Regions from separate parts of the Homo sapiens genome. Here all the other regions are linked to region 1. Evidence: promoter capture Hi-C in human tissues and cell types (Jung and others, 2019). All regions are on one chromosome and are shown on one strand. Each heading gives the region's core, a stretch centred on a gene start or on the middle of the fragment in contact. The rest is flanking DNA. Distances are from core to core; before and after follow the strand shown.

What was found. The method cuts DNA at HindIII sites, captures the fragments that hold promoters and counts their contacts. A contact is called where the count stands out against the background at its distance.
Region 2: a contact is called between a fragment that was not itself captured here and the fragment with the promoter of CXCR6 in region 1, in 2 of the 25 tissues and cell types used here (adrenal gland and aorta).
Region 3: a fragment that was not itself captured here is called in contact with the fragment with the promoter of CXCR6 in region 1 in 2 of the 25 tissues and cell types used here (hippocampus and liver).

Annotation. Positions count from the first base shown.
Region 1 is chr3:45,940,857-45,945,714 of GRCh38, forward strand. CXCR6 (C-X-C motif chemokine receptor 6) reads left to right here and starts at 2,608. Exons shown (of 2, transcript NM_006564.2): 1 at 2,608-2,684. The region is part of intron 14 of FYCO1 (FYVE and coiled-coil domain autophagy adaptor 1); the gene reads right to left. The HindIII fragment of the contact is 14,146 bases long and covers 1-4,858 here.
Region 2 is chr3:45,816,840-45,821,697 of GRCh38, forward strand. No RefSeq gene overlaps it. Among named protein-coding and RNA genes, the nearest start is that of SLC6A20, 23 kb to the left of the region's middle. RefSeq lists an enhancer at 953-2,152. The HindIII fragment of the contact is 5,505 bases long and covers 13-4,858 here.
Region 3 is chr3:45,865,145-45,870,002 of GRCh38, forward strand. It overlaps LOC124909374 (a long non-coding RNA gene), which reads left to right. Exons shown (of 2, transcript XR_007095900.1): 1 at 1-111; 2 at 1,292-1,427. It also overlaps a transcript of LZTFL1 not described here. Among named protein-coding and RNA genes, the nearest start is that of CCR9, 19 kb to the right of the region's middle. The HindIII fragment of the contact is 6,101 bases long and covers 1-4,858 here.

The sequences.
Region 1 (4,858 bases), core at 1,358-3,857:
CTTTGGTGCCACATGACTCAGACACATTCCCTAGTGGTAAGACACTCCTACAACTCACCTTCTTCCGCTGGAGGTAGTCAACCCCTGTACGCGGTTTCCTTCTCCTGCTCTCCTGCTTATAGAACAATTGTTCCTCCAGAACAATTCCTCTCAGCCATAGTGGCTCTGCTCCCACCAGATGATCTCTCAGCTCATCCTGGTGACTTGCAGGGGTACAGGTCTGCCGGCTATGTTGCCCAGGCTGGCCTCAAACTCCTGGCTTCAATGATCCTCTCATCTTAGCCTCTTGAGTACTGGGACTATAAGTGCCCACTGCCACGCCTGGCTGGTTAGGCTACTTTTCTGTGGATCACAGCCCATCATCCACCAATGCCTTGCCAACAACTGTAAATGTCTCATCCCTGAATCCTGGAACTGATAACAGCTCTGCCAGGTCTTCAGGTAAGGAGAGCAGGCCAACAGTCTGACTTCCAAGATAAATCTGCAGCAGGTATGTCTGCCACTTCCTTTTTACTCTTCCCTCAATTTTATTTAGAAAATGTTTAGGTATTTCTGGGGAAATCTAAGACATATATGATTGGGTTCCCACCCTTAGGAAGTTCAAAGTTTTGTTTCAAATAAAAGTAATGCCCTTAAAACAATTAACACTATAAATTGGCAGATAGTAAACGGCATTTTGTAAAGTGATTAAAATAAAATTTTAGCCCCAAACCTGCAAGTGGCTCAGCTCCTCAAATTTAGGTGAAAGTCTTTTGTACTATAGAGAAGTTTCTATTAAAGAATGGCCACGATAAACAAGCCATGCTTTCTCAAATACACATATCCCCATATTGACATGTACACACAGTCATGGAGGGCCCCAGGTGCTGGCTTGTTTTTCCCCATGGAGTAGAAAGGCTTGCTGAGAAAAGCATGGCCAAGGGTGCTTGACAAGGCTCAGGCCATTCTAACACTGCCCTATGGACCTGTCTTGAATGGCATGGTTGGTTGTCCCTGGGTAAAACTCAGCTCTCAAAGCTTAAAGATTCCTAAATGTCAGGCAGGGTTACATTAAATTGCCACCCTGCCTTGAAAGTTCTCTTTCAGGAAGACAGGTGCATATTTGGCTCAGTCTGTTCCTTTATTCATTTGTCCACCATTCCCTACATCCATCTGTCCATCGGTATGTAGTCTATGCGGCCTCATGGTTCATGCCCATAAGGAACACCTCACTCATTTGTACCAGTTTGGTAGAAAGGACAGTCTGAACGAATTCATTCAAAAAGGCCTGCAAACCTACTAGAGGTCTTCAGATCTTTTATCAGGGCCCCCTGGCACAGCTCCATACTCAGAGCAGGGCAGGAAGCACTGGCTTTGCAGCCTGACAGTCCTGGGTGACTGCCAGGGATGTGTGTTCTTGGGCAAGTGGGCTAATCTCTCTAATCTTCTGTTTGCCTATCTGTACGTGACTAGGATTAGATGGCTGTACATAGAAGCATCCAGCATAGGGCCAGGCTTGCGGTAGAAATGAGTGTTAGTCTCTGGATCCTGAGGCTGCTCCTGGTCCCTGCTCCCAATGCTTGACATTTGCCCTTAGGAAGAGCCACATGAGAAGGTTTGCCTAGCAGGTGGGAGAGAGCAACAGCATTGGAGAGAAGCAGCCTGAATGGGAGTGCAGAGCCAGAGAAGGCAGGCCAGGCACCTCCACAAGAAGGCAGCTGCTTCTGGGAAAGCAGACATCGAGTCCATGCCTCTCCCTAGTACCCTCTCCACTACAAGGCACTGGGGCATGTGACCCAGGCTGACATGCCTCCAATTCCTGCCTTCCAGCGTTATTTCCCAGAAGGGTCAGTAATGTTAGATCATGGAGACTGACAACTAGAACTGTACTGAGATCAAAGTAGTCAACATCTGGGGAATTCCAGGAGTACAGAGGGCAGCCCAAGGAAACCAGATGATTCCAGCCAGCCTACGCAGGGTGGGTGGGCACTGCCTGCTGAGTGCCTGAGTGGTGTGGGCTTAGGAGGTGGGGCTGCACCAGGCCCTCTGGCAGACCCATCATCATGCTGTTGATTGGTCTGGTAATGACAGATACCTGAGTGTGTATCTTCGATTTTCCAGTTTCTAGCTGTGTGCACCAGGGCTTGTTATTTTGGCTATGGTCCTCAGTGTTCTCATCTATAAAGGCAGGATAATATCCACTGCAGGGCTGCTATGGGGCTTAACAGCTATCACATATGCTGGAGCTGCATATGCACGCAGAACCCAGCCCATACCATGGACTCAGCATTGGCCCAGACCCTAACTGTTCCAAAAAGATGTCTGACTAGTGAATTAAGTAATTTTAAGGTACAAATGCCACCATCTTCGGTGGATGGCCAGAGCCAAACCTCCTTATTGTTCCCCTTTAGTTTACGAATAAAGCTCGTCAGGCCCTGACAGAAGAATCAGCCCCAAAGCAGAATGAAGGGAGTGTGGGGTATCAGTCACCCATCCATCTCTGACCCACGCGTTACACAGGGGCGGGTTGGTCATATGGATTCTGATCTGAAGGACGGGAGTAGGGGGTGGGTCTCTTATAGTAACCAGCTGAGGGCTCTTAAAAAATGTTCAGCGGAAACATGAACCACATCACAGAAGTAGAGGCAGACCTTGCTTCATGAGCAAGCTCATCTCTGGAACAAACTGGCAAAGCATCTCTGCTGGTGAGTCATTTGTTTTACTCTTTATATTGAAAAGAAGACAGGGAGGACTAACCCCAGGTATTGTTGGTATTCTCAGATTCCTGTCTGTAGTAGGGTACAGTGCAAAATGCCAGGCTATGGAGCTCAGCTGCTCTTCGTTCAAATTCCATCACTGCCATTTGCTGCTGTGTGGGTTAAACTGGAGAAACATGAAAACTACTGAACATGTTTCCAGGCACACAGTTAGTGCTTGCAGGCTGATGGTACTGCTAGTAATGGCATAGTCAGACCCACCCAGGGAGATAAGGAGAATCTAGTTATTGTCTATATTTGCTCAATGAATAATCTCTGTTTTCATTTCTTTTGCATAAGACAGGCTGTTTTATCAGATTATCATTTATGTTCTTTTTTCAATATAAATCAACATACTACTGTAGAAACTTTGAAAACTATTTTAAAAAAAGGAAGAAATAAGTCACCCATAATTCCACCAGCTGGAGGCCAACTGTTAATAAAATGTGATCATTTTTTCCAGGTTTCTAAAAGTACGGTCAGTTAAAATCACATAGTTTATCATGAACTCTTATGTGAGGGCCCACAGAATACATGGCAGAAGGATTCAAGGGGTTCATGGACTCCCAGAATTGTAGGGGTGTTTGTGTGTGTGCGTGTGTGTCTGTGTGTGTGTGTGTGTGTGTATATATATATACATTATTTCTGAGAAAAGGTCTGCAGTTTTTAGGAGATTCTCAAAGGAGTTTATGGTCAAAAAAGGTTAAGAATCACAATTTTATATCCTTTTGACATCTATTTGTTGTAATAGTAATAGTTAATACTTATTTTGCATATTTACTTTGTGTTTACACTGTTCTTAGCAATTTAACTGTATTGCATTTTCCAAAATCAGTAAAAATACTTCCTAAACATTTAAGTATATTCTATTTTATGTATGAATTGTAATTTGCTTCATCATTATCAGACTTTTACACTACTTCCAAAGTTGTAGATTTTTTTTTTAATTTTCAGAAAACAAAATAGGATTTTAATTATAGAGGATAAAGAAATGAATGTTTTTAGTTCGCCTAGAAGGGAAAGTAATTTTTCATACTCTATTTGCACAGCACTGTCCAGGCCCAATCTGTTTACCAATTATTATACATCAAAGTTTACCAATTATTACACATGAATTTGCACAGGTCCTTTGAGGAAATGTGTAATGGCAGCATAAGGGACCAGCAAAAGCTGGAACAGGAAGATACCAAAAAAAGGCGAGAGCGAGTCAAGCAATAATGGGGAGCTGAACATTATTCTTAAGAGCAAAGCCACCTGTTTCATATTTTAAATGATGAAAAAATATGTTTTTGCCCATGTGAATCAATAACACATACACATCATCTGACCTACTTAATACAGTGCCCCAGAGAGCTTGTGGGGGGCAGGATGTCTACTGGCTGACCTATCACCCTTAGAGATCTAACAATTGTGACGTAAGGGCAAGGATTTTTATTAAGCAGTCTTAGCCCAAAGGCAGCATCCTTCCTTGCTAGAGAGAAAGGGCACTTTGGTCCCTGGAAAGACAGAGGCAAGCAGCAGCATCGGAGACACTGCTCCCAGTCAGGACTCAAAGTCAGCGACAGAAGTGTTTCTGAGTGGATTAGGAAAGGTAACCTCATCGTTTATATGCACTTGTCTGGTCAGGCAATATTTTGACTTTGCTGGCAGAGATTCTGTCCAAACACCTGCTCTTCTTCATACATCTTCTAGAGGTGCTGGCCAGACATGGCTCCAGGTCACTGGAAATGAGCTGCTGCATGTTGAGTATCTGCAGTCCTGTAGCAAGGGCAGACTTGGCACTCATGGGCTGATGTTGCCGCAGCTGCCCCTGCTCCCACACCACAGGTTACATGATCCCTTGTCCTGTCCATGGTCTTTGGCAGGGTCACAGGGCAGAGGGAAGGGTCAGAGAGAAGTGACATCTTGAAGGGCTGGTGCCCTGGGTAAGAAAGGTTGCCCATCTGGCATCCCATTTCAATTGGGTTTTCTGCTTGTTAAATGAGGCCCCTAAGTCCTAACCTGCCAATCACAGGAGCTAAGGCAAGGTTCCGCTTTGGGGAAATCTACCTTTTAAGAGACTTCTTGTTCAGAAGTCTTCAGGAAATGAGGCTCTGATGGTAGAATGCCATAAACTGTGTTAA
Region 2 (4,858 bases), core at 1,515-4,014, 120 kb before region 1:
ACAACCAAGTGGAGTATGTTTCAGGCCTCTAAGGATAGTTTAACAGTAAGAAATTAAATATCATTCACAACATTAACAGAAAAAAGAGAAAAATTATATCATCTCAACAGATGCAGAAAAGGCATTTGGCAAAATTCAACACCCATTTATAGTTTAAGCTTTTCTAGCAAACTAGGAATAAAAAAGAACTTCCTTAATTTGACACCGAATATAGCAAGCATTATTCTTTTTTTTTTTTTTTTTTTTTTCTGAGAACAGTCTTGCTCTGTTGCCCAGGCTGGAGTGCAGTGGTGCGATCTCGGCTCACTGCAACGTCTGCCTCCCAGGTTCAAGCTATTCTCCTGCTCAGCGTCCTGAGTAGCTGGGACTACAGGCGTGCACCACCACGCCTGGCTAATTTTTTGTATTTTTAGTAGAGATGGAGTTTTACCATGTTGACCAGGCTGGTCTTGAACTCCTGACTTCAGGTAATTTGCCCATCTTGGCCTCCCAAAGTGCTGGGATTACAGGCGTGAGCTACTGTGCCCAGCCTGCAAGCATTATTCTTATTGGTGAAATATTTAAAGTGTTCTCCCTGAGACTGGGCATGAAGCAAAGATGCTATCTTTTCTATTCAACATTGTACTAGAGGTCCTAGCCAGTGCAATAAGGCAAGAGAAATAAATAAAAGGCTCACAATCTCATTTATTCAAAATTATTTACCTGGAAACCCCAACTATTTGAAACAAAGCTGGTAATCTGGAAGACTAACATTCTCTTATAAAGCAATCTAAAAAGGTCTTGGAGCAGCAAAGATGCCACAAAGCCTATGCTCTTCACACACAGAGTCCCTTAAGCCCTCATCCTGAAGCTACGTACAATCCTAATAAATGGCTCCATTTATTTTCCAAGCCCACCTTGGAAAATGGCAAGAGATTGGCAAACCAAACAAAACCAATGTTAGCTACCAGCCTAAAAGGAAAGAACACGCATAAACCATAAAACGTAGATGCAGCAGTTTAAAAAAACAGTGCTTATAAATCACTTATTAAAAGGGCAAACAGCTCCACACCTCAGCAGCCCTGAGGGCACTGCAGTGCAGGACAATAATTGACACTTGTAATAATGACTTTGAGTCATCAGGAAAAGATAAGATTATGCTTATGACTCACTGCTTAAGAAGGCAGGAAATTATATTTTGTATTAAAGGTTTTTAATGTCTGATTTTAAAGAAGTTTGGGTTATTTATATGGAGAAATTTTAGTGTTAGGAAATTACTTTATAGGTAATATCTGATTTCTTTTACAACCTAACCACTAAGGTTTTTCATGGCTTAAGCAGTACTTGGCCAGGAAACAGAAGTCAATTTCACAAGTGTTTGGATTGAGCACCTGTGATACTTGAGTCATAATGACGGGCTCTGCTCCAGGCACTCAGTCCAGGGATGTTCTTTTTTTTTTCAGAGTTGTTACTATTTAAAGGCAGCTGTGGCTTGGCCACGTGAGCATACTGGGCTGAAAATGGTAAGCAGGATTTGTAATTTCTTCTAAGTCGAGTCGACCCTTTGATGAGTAAGTATTGAAAGCATGCAAATATTCCTTGCATTTGCTCTTCTATCTTCTTAGTTCACTGTGGGATGAGATGCTATTGATGTCACACCCAATTCCCCTTATCCCAGCCTGGAATGTGGCCTGCAGAAGGTTCTCTGTGTCTCTTCACCTGAAGCCCTTTCTTGGCTACGGAAGCATGTTCAGCCTAGGTCCAACAACAAGGAGTTAACATCTCAGGAGTAATCCTCATCTTGATAAATTAAGGCCTGGTGGATACATTCCCAGCTTCCTCACGTCTCAGTGGGATTGAGCGTGGTGGTCCACAGTGCTAACCTGCTCATTAACACACATTTTATCTCCTTTCTTCCCTTTCCTACCTCATGCCTCCGTACCCTCACCCCACTTTCTGGGATCCCCTCCCCACTTCAACCAAGATCCCTGCCTCAGGGTTTTGCTTTTGGGGGAGCTGAAATAAAACATCTGGTGCCAGAAATGGCCCTAGAAAGTGGCCTCAGGATGAGACACTGGACTTGATGCCAGCCAGATGACAACAGGATCCCACTGCTAGTAGTAAGTGTAGTGGTGATAAACCCTGTCACACTACTGGGTTAGTTACCAACACTCTCACCTGGGTATGGATTGGAATGAAAGAAGAGAAGACAGTCTCTGATTAGCCAACTATTACCTGAAGAGATGCCCTGACAACTAGAAAGCCCCCAGGTCTCTATTTAAAAGAACCCACATCTCCTATGTGCAGAAGCCAGAATGTACTGAGAATCCGGCCCATGATTGGATTACAGCAGTGATGCAGATTCAAAGGAGACCAAATTCACATGCCCGGAAAGTCTCCTTTGCTTAAGTCAGGGCCCTGATTGGGAAGGAATGTGACTCTGAGATATGAGGGGCCCATTTGGGCAAATGCCCTCAACGACCTTGATATCCCAGATTCTTCTGAACCCTTGGGTCTAGAAGAAGTGGCTCACTCCCCCTTGCTAGAGGAGGGTAGCCTCCTATCACCTGGAAGCCATTCCAAGGCCTCTCTTGAAAGGAGACTGGCAAGATAACCTTGGTCTTCCTCAGGATCGGTCCCTACTTCCACTCATTACTTCTAAACCAATAAATAGGGCTGAATATCAGCATGCCCTATGCAGAGAAATATTATCCTGCTTTGAGAAGAAATGGATTAGTCCCCCAAAAGAACAGAACCTGGACTGGCAGAAACTGGAAGAACATGTATGGTTATGGATCTTGAGGATGCTGGCCTAGTGGGAAGTAGAAAAGAAGTTGGATAAGGAAGAGTTTATTGACATAGACTGTCTTCTGTGACTCAGGATTTGGCATGTTTGTAAGAACACATGGAGCCAGTCCTAATACACTGCTGCAATGGGCCTTGGTGCTTGAGGATGATGGTATGCCAAAAACGAGGTGGAGATTCCACAACTGCTTAACAAGAGTGCTGAGGAGGGTTCAGAAGGCTCAGAGGGATGACATGCTAGAATGGATATAAGGCGAGAGAGCCCACCCATGGGCAGGGGTATTTCCTTCACTGAAACAATAAAGACTGCATTGGTAAGGGGACATTAACATTGTTGAGAAGCTCAGTGGTGGCTGTCTTCTGTTGGCTAGAACTGACAACAGAAGATGCTGGCACATAACTGGGCCTCCTATGATAGGAAGGATTCCAGAACAAAAAACTAATGGCTGCACTCAGACATTAGAGGAATAAAATGAATACAGTAACCTAATGGGCCGTAAGGCCAGAAGAACAACCAGGGAGCCAAGGACCAGTGGCTAATAGATTACGGCGCTCCTAGAGGTGAGGTGAATGGGCAGTCAATGAAGTTACTGTTATAAAACCAAGCCAACCAACCAAACAGCTGATGAGTAAAAGACTGATGTCAGCCACCACAGTGGAAAATCCTGATCTCTCATAGTTACCAGACCTAGTCAGTTCTCAGTTCCAGAGCCCATGGATTGAAGGAGAGTCTGGGTCTCCTGAGGAGGAGCCCTGCAGCACTATAGCAATCTTAAATAATACACACTGTCTCAAATCTTTCCCAAAGAGCCCCATGGCCATTTTTCAGAGTAACTGTATGCTGAGAAAGCAGAATATACACATCTTTCAAGAGCTACTCAACATAGGGCCTGAGTGACATACCCAGGGGATCTAAAGCACCACCACAGCCCTCTTGTTAGAGTGGGACATATAAGATAGGCAATCTATAAAGTTCTGACCCAAGGCTATCTCAGGGCAGATCCAGTAGGCCTGTGGGTCAATCCCCTGATCTCCCTTGTTTCTGAGAGGATAAATGGGATGAGTGCACTTAACTGAGAGACCCCAAAATTGGTTTCTTGACCTGAGGGATAAGAGCCATAATGGTAGAAAAGGCTTATTTAATGCTCCAAAATGCTCTCTCCATCCCACCCCCTCCCCACTCCTGGTCAAAATCAGGGGCAACATCCCAGGAGTATTGACAGTGATCCCCACAATATCCCATTGAATGGTTCCTGCAAAGCAAAACAGAGCAAAAGTGGAAGATGACAGTGGACTAACATAAACCAAGAAGTAGCTCCAATAGCAGCTGCTGTGCTGGATGTAGCATCCCTTCGAGTCAGCACTTGATATGAGGCTGGAGATTTGGTTAATGAATTCTTTTAAATCCCCTTCAGAAAAGAGAATCAAGAACAGGTTGAATTCACCTGGGTCAGATAACACAGTGTACACTCAAAGTTTTGCTCCAGGAGCATATAAACCCTCCTGCTCTGTTACAAAACTGTCCAAAGAAGTCCTTGATCATCGTGACATTCTGTAGAACATCATCCTGGTCCAATACTTTGATGACAAAATGTTAACTGGACCTAGTGAACAGGAATGAACTGGCAAATAATCTGAGTGTTCCTTATGACACATGCACCAGAGAGAAGGAGGTAATTCCTACAAAGATTCAGAGGTCAGAGGTCCAACAATCTAGGGAATACTGGGACATCCTGCCAAGTCAAGAGCCAGTTATTGCATTTTGTACCTTCTACTACTAAGAGAGGTAAGCACTAGGTAGTATTATCTGGATTCTGAAGTCAGCATGTACAACACTTAGGAATATTGCTCTGACCATTTCTTGGGTCACTCAGAAGGCTGCAAGTTTTGAGTACACAGTTAGGAGGGCTTTGTACCTCTCTATGGTTCAGGCTGTAGTGTAGGGGTACCTCTTGGTGATATGTGGGGGTAACAATAAATGGGAAATTTCACAAATACAGCAGGACAGGGGCAAAATGATCAGGGGCTCAGACATCTAAGAAAGGAAAGTCTAGGTCATCTCATGAGGCCAGCC
Region 3 (4,858 bases), core at 968-3,467, 76 kb before region 1:
AAGAAATGCAATCCTTCCCCACAGGCAGCCTTTCCTGAGGAGAAGAAGGAGCTTCTCTAATTGTCACATGAGTAGAAAATGTTGAAGAGACCTGCCTCTTTCAGAGGAAGGGTAAACAGAATTCTAACCACATTTTAAAACACCTCTTCCCTCTGCTTATTGAAGTAGGATACTCAGCAACAATTCAAAAGATTGAGGTTTACATGCACTGATGAGGAACGACCTCCAAGCTTCATTGTTCAGTGAGTGAAACCAGAGTTAGAGCAACAGAGCTCACAAAATCTCACTTACACGCACTACATGCTTCCACATGCAAACACGTGCACATGCACACACATGCACAGACTCTTGCAAAGAAAAGATGAACACACACCAAACTTTTAATGATAAATATGTATGACGAACTAGGAAAGGGATGGAATAAAAGGGAACGTTCACTTTTCTTACTCTATATTTCTGAAGTTTTTGGATTTTCTTTTTATAACAGGAGGTAAACATTTAGTTCTTATGTAATTTTAAGAGAGGGAACGATGAATTCATACACTTCTGGTAGAAATGTAAAAATGATACAGTCATTTGAAAACAGTTTGGCAGTTCCTCAAAAAGTTAAACATAGAGTTATCATATGACCCAGCCATTTCACTCCTGAGTGTTTACCCAAGAGAGAAAGAAATATATGTTCCTGCAAATACTTGAGCGTTTATAACAGCGTTGTCTGTAATAACCGAAAATCAGAGGCAACCAAATGTCTACAAACCAATGAATGGATAACAAACTGGTATAGGCCATGTAATCGAATACTATTCCACAATAATAGGAAACAACTATTGGTACACATGACAACGTGAATGCATCTCAAAATGATGCTGAGTGAAAGAAGCCAGACAAAAGAGTATTTGCTATGTATTACAATTTATATAAAATTCTAGAAATGCAAACCAAACTATAGTGACAGAAAGCAGATCGGTGGTTGAATGTGGCGAGGGGTGGTGGCGTGGTGGGAGGAAGGAAGAACAAATGGGTCCAAGGACACTTTTGGGGTGATGGATATGTTCACCACCTTCATTGTGCTAATGATTGATCCGGTGTGTACTACAGCAAGATTTATCCAATTGCATACTTTAAACATGTAGTTTATAGTGCGCTAATCATAACTCAATGAATCTACAAAAAAGTAATACATGCTTAATATAGAACATTTTGAAATAATGTAAAAATGAAGACGAAAAATTTAAAAGCCCCTACACTTTCAAAAAGAAAACCGTTAACATTTTGGGGCTTTTTCTTCCAGGAAAGTTTCACGTCCACCATACAGTCAGCTCTACAAGGGCAAGCCTGCCTGATTCACCAGCCGTATTCACAGAACTATGCTGGAAAAGCAATTGTGGGATAACTAAGTTTGGATCAATAAATGAATGTGTAAAAGAGCCTACCCTCTTCATTTCATAGTATATAATGAGGGCTTTTTCATGTCACTAAAAGTTCTTTGAAAACATACCATGGCTTCACACCCTTCCACTGCCTGGATCTACAGTAATTGATTTTAGACTTGGGTTGTTTAGAGTCTTTCAATATAACCAATAGTGCTGTAATATTCAGCTTTGTGTATACCACAGAAGACTTGTATTCACCATAGAGGCTATCCCACAACAATTAATGGATCCAATTAAGTAGGTTAACAATTTGGTTTTACATTGTGTAGCTAAAAATAAGATAGTTGCGGCCAGGTGAAGTGGCTCACGCCTGTAATCCCAGCACTTTGGGAGGCTGAGGCAGGCGGATCACTTGAGGTCAGGAGTTCGAGACCAGCCTGGGCAACATAGTGAAACCCCATCTTTACTAAAAATACAAAAATTAGCTGGGCATGGTGGCGCATGCCTGTAATCCCAGCTACTTAGGCGGCTGAGGCAGGAGAATCGCTTGAACCCAGGAGGCTGAGGTTGCAGTGAGCCGAGATCATGCCACTACACTCCAGCCTGGGTGACAGAGCAAGACTCAATCTCAAAAAAAAAAAAAAAAAAAAAAAACCCAAAAGATAGTTACATTTTTCATCTTTTAAATTAATTTGTTAATTGCCTTCTCTTTCACTCAGTTTCCCCTTTGGTAAATGGGAGTAATAATAATATCTTCCTCTCAAGGTGTTGTTAAAATTTTAAAATATGGTGTAAAAACTGCTTATGACAATGCTGGCAGAGAGTAAACTTGTAATGATGGGCACTTCCGGGCCATTCTTGTGCCAGAACTGTCCTTGGCTCCTGCCAAATTCCCGCAATTCAAGTTTTTTTTTTCTTGCACCTGCTAGTCTGAACACATCCATCAACCTTGCTTAAAGAATCTTTGGGGTGAATTGGAATTAAAAGGCAAGGCTGGAAGTTTATATTGTTACTATTTAGCACTTCTTTAGAAAACTCATCTTAGGCTGGGCACCGTGGCTCATGCCTGTAATCCCAGCACTTTGGGAGGAGGAAGTGAGAGGATTCCTTGAGCCCAGGAATTCAAGACCAGCCTGGGCAACATAGTGAGACCTCATCTCTACAAAATATCAAAAAATTAGCTGGGCACAGTGGTGCATGCCTGTAGTCCCAGCTACTTGGGAGGCTGATGTGGGAGGATCACTTGAGCCTGGGAGGTCAAGGCTGCAGTGAGCTGTGATCGCACCACTGCACTCTAGCCTGGGTGACAGAGCAAGACCCTGTCTCAAAACAACAACGACAACGAACAAGAAAACCTATATTAGCCAAAGATAAATGTCAGCCCCATTGGAATGGGTTCCATGTTCTGTCTCTGGATAGCTCTGGTGATGAGAAGGATTCAAGGGCAGCAATTTTCTTTCAAGAAGATTTTCCATTAGGTATATCTCTTAATGCTATATATATATAATGGAAAATCCTCTTGAAAGAAAATTGCTGCCCTTGAATCCTTCTCATCACCAGAGCTATCCAGAGTGCAGCACACCAGCATGGCACATGTATACATATGTAACAAACCTGCACGTTGTGCACATGTACCCTAGAACTTAAAGTATAATAAAAATATATATATATATAAATTTTTAAAAAGTATTTTAATTTTTTTGCAAAAAAAAAAAGAGGATTTTCCCCAGCTTTCTACTGAACCTGTGCAAGTGAAACTTGATTGAAACCACTCGCTTCGTAGAGTTGTGGTAGCAAACCATAAATCATTCTGGCTTCCCTGAGAAGTTTTTCAAACCTTAGAGAGCCAGATGACTCTTAACAAAGCTGTTTCATTAAACAGTTTTAGAGTGGATTTTTAGCCAAGTTCTGGTTCTAGATTCTCAGCATTTAGCAGAAATGTTTAGTGAGTTACTCACATACACACATGTAAAGCTTTTGTTCACTTAGGTCAACAGAGAGAGAAATGAATATGTAAATATGTATTGAGTCAATATTTGCAAATATAGCTTTGTTTAAATAATAGCCTCTCATTTTATAGTTAAGAAAAGTGAGGCTTAACAAGATTGAGTGACTTGCTCAAATTCTCAGTCAGTGGTAGGGGGGGTAAACCCAACTCTCTCTGATTCCAAAGCAAGTATATCATCTACATGATAGAAAATCATAATAACAGCCGATATTTTCCCAACATATTACAGTTTCCAAGCCTCTCTGATACATTGTCTCATCAAGCCCTTATGGTCCTTCTCTGTTTAGAAGGCTACCATGGGGCAGGCCTTCTCCCCACACCTCCCAAACGTGGATATAAGACTCTCCCTTGACATCCAAATGTGGTCCTGGCCCAGCATCATGGGCATTGCCTGAGAGCTTGTTAGAAATGCAGACTCTCAGGCCCCACCCCAGACCTACTGACTCAGAATCTGTATTTTAATAAGATCCCCACTTTGAAGAGCATTCCCACAAAGTCAGACAAGAAATGCACACATGATGACCACAGCAGAGAGAAGGCAGAGTGTCCCTCAGGCTAGCAGGTCTTGTGTGACACTGACTGAAGAGCTAAAGACAGTGCATGTGCATGGGCAGGAAGGGATGGGCAGAGCACGAGATCACAAAGATCACCACTGGCATTGCTCAGGGATGGAGGACCATGGATAAAGGCCATTGGCAAGGTCAGTCCTGCTGTGCAAGGAGTGCATGGGCAACCAAGTCTACTGATGCTGTATGTTTGTTATGGGAAACCCTTGGGATGCTAGACTAGGCAGAATGTAATCAATTTTTATTTTTCATTTCATGAAGACTTTCCTAGAAGCAGGAAAAAGAAGACGCCATGCCTTCCAGTCATGCTTGCTTAAAGCCATGCTTGCTTGCTCTTCTATATTTCATTTAGAAAACACGGTTAACGTTTCAATGAAGTAGTGGTTGGATATTACCCTGGGCCCCCAAGTTCTGCCCTCCCTAGCCTGGGATGGGACACAGCTATAAGAAGGAGCATACTTCCTCTGGTCCATCTCTAACTTTTAAGACAACGCAGCCAACTCTGAGCCTACACCCCCTTGTGTCATTGATGTACCCCTCCTTTGTGGAAGGTGCCTGGAAGCAGTGTGGGTAATGCCTGGAGATGGCTGGGCATGGCCTTGGTAGGGAATGATTCGTCTGTGTCTTTTTTGAGCCATAAAATCCCCATCTTATTGAAATAAAAAGAAATTCAGGTATGTCTGGTCCAGACAGAAGAGGTCACCCCCAAATCTGGGACATCCAAGATGACACCCAAGATGAAAGATGATGTCATCATCAATCCTCTGGTTTAAAACTATTTCCCTCAGGATTGCAATTTGGCTCCTCCAGTGGGTCTGCCCATGGAGGGAGAGAGACCAGTTATGTCAACAAAAGTACTCGAGTTCCCATGACATCTGCTTTTGCATTTTCCTCCAACTCTCCATGTCATT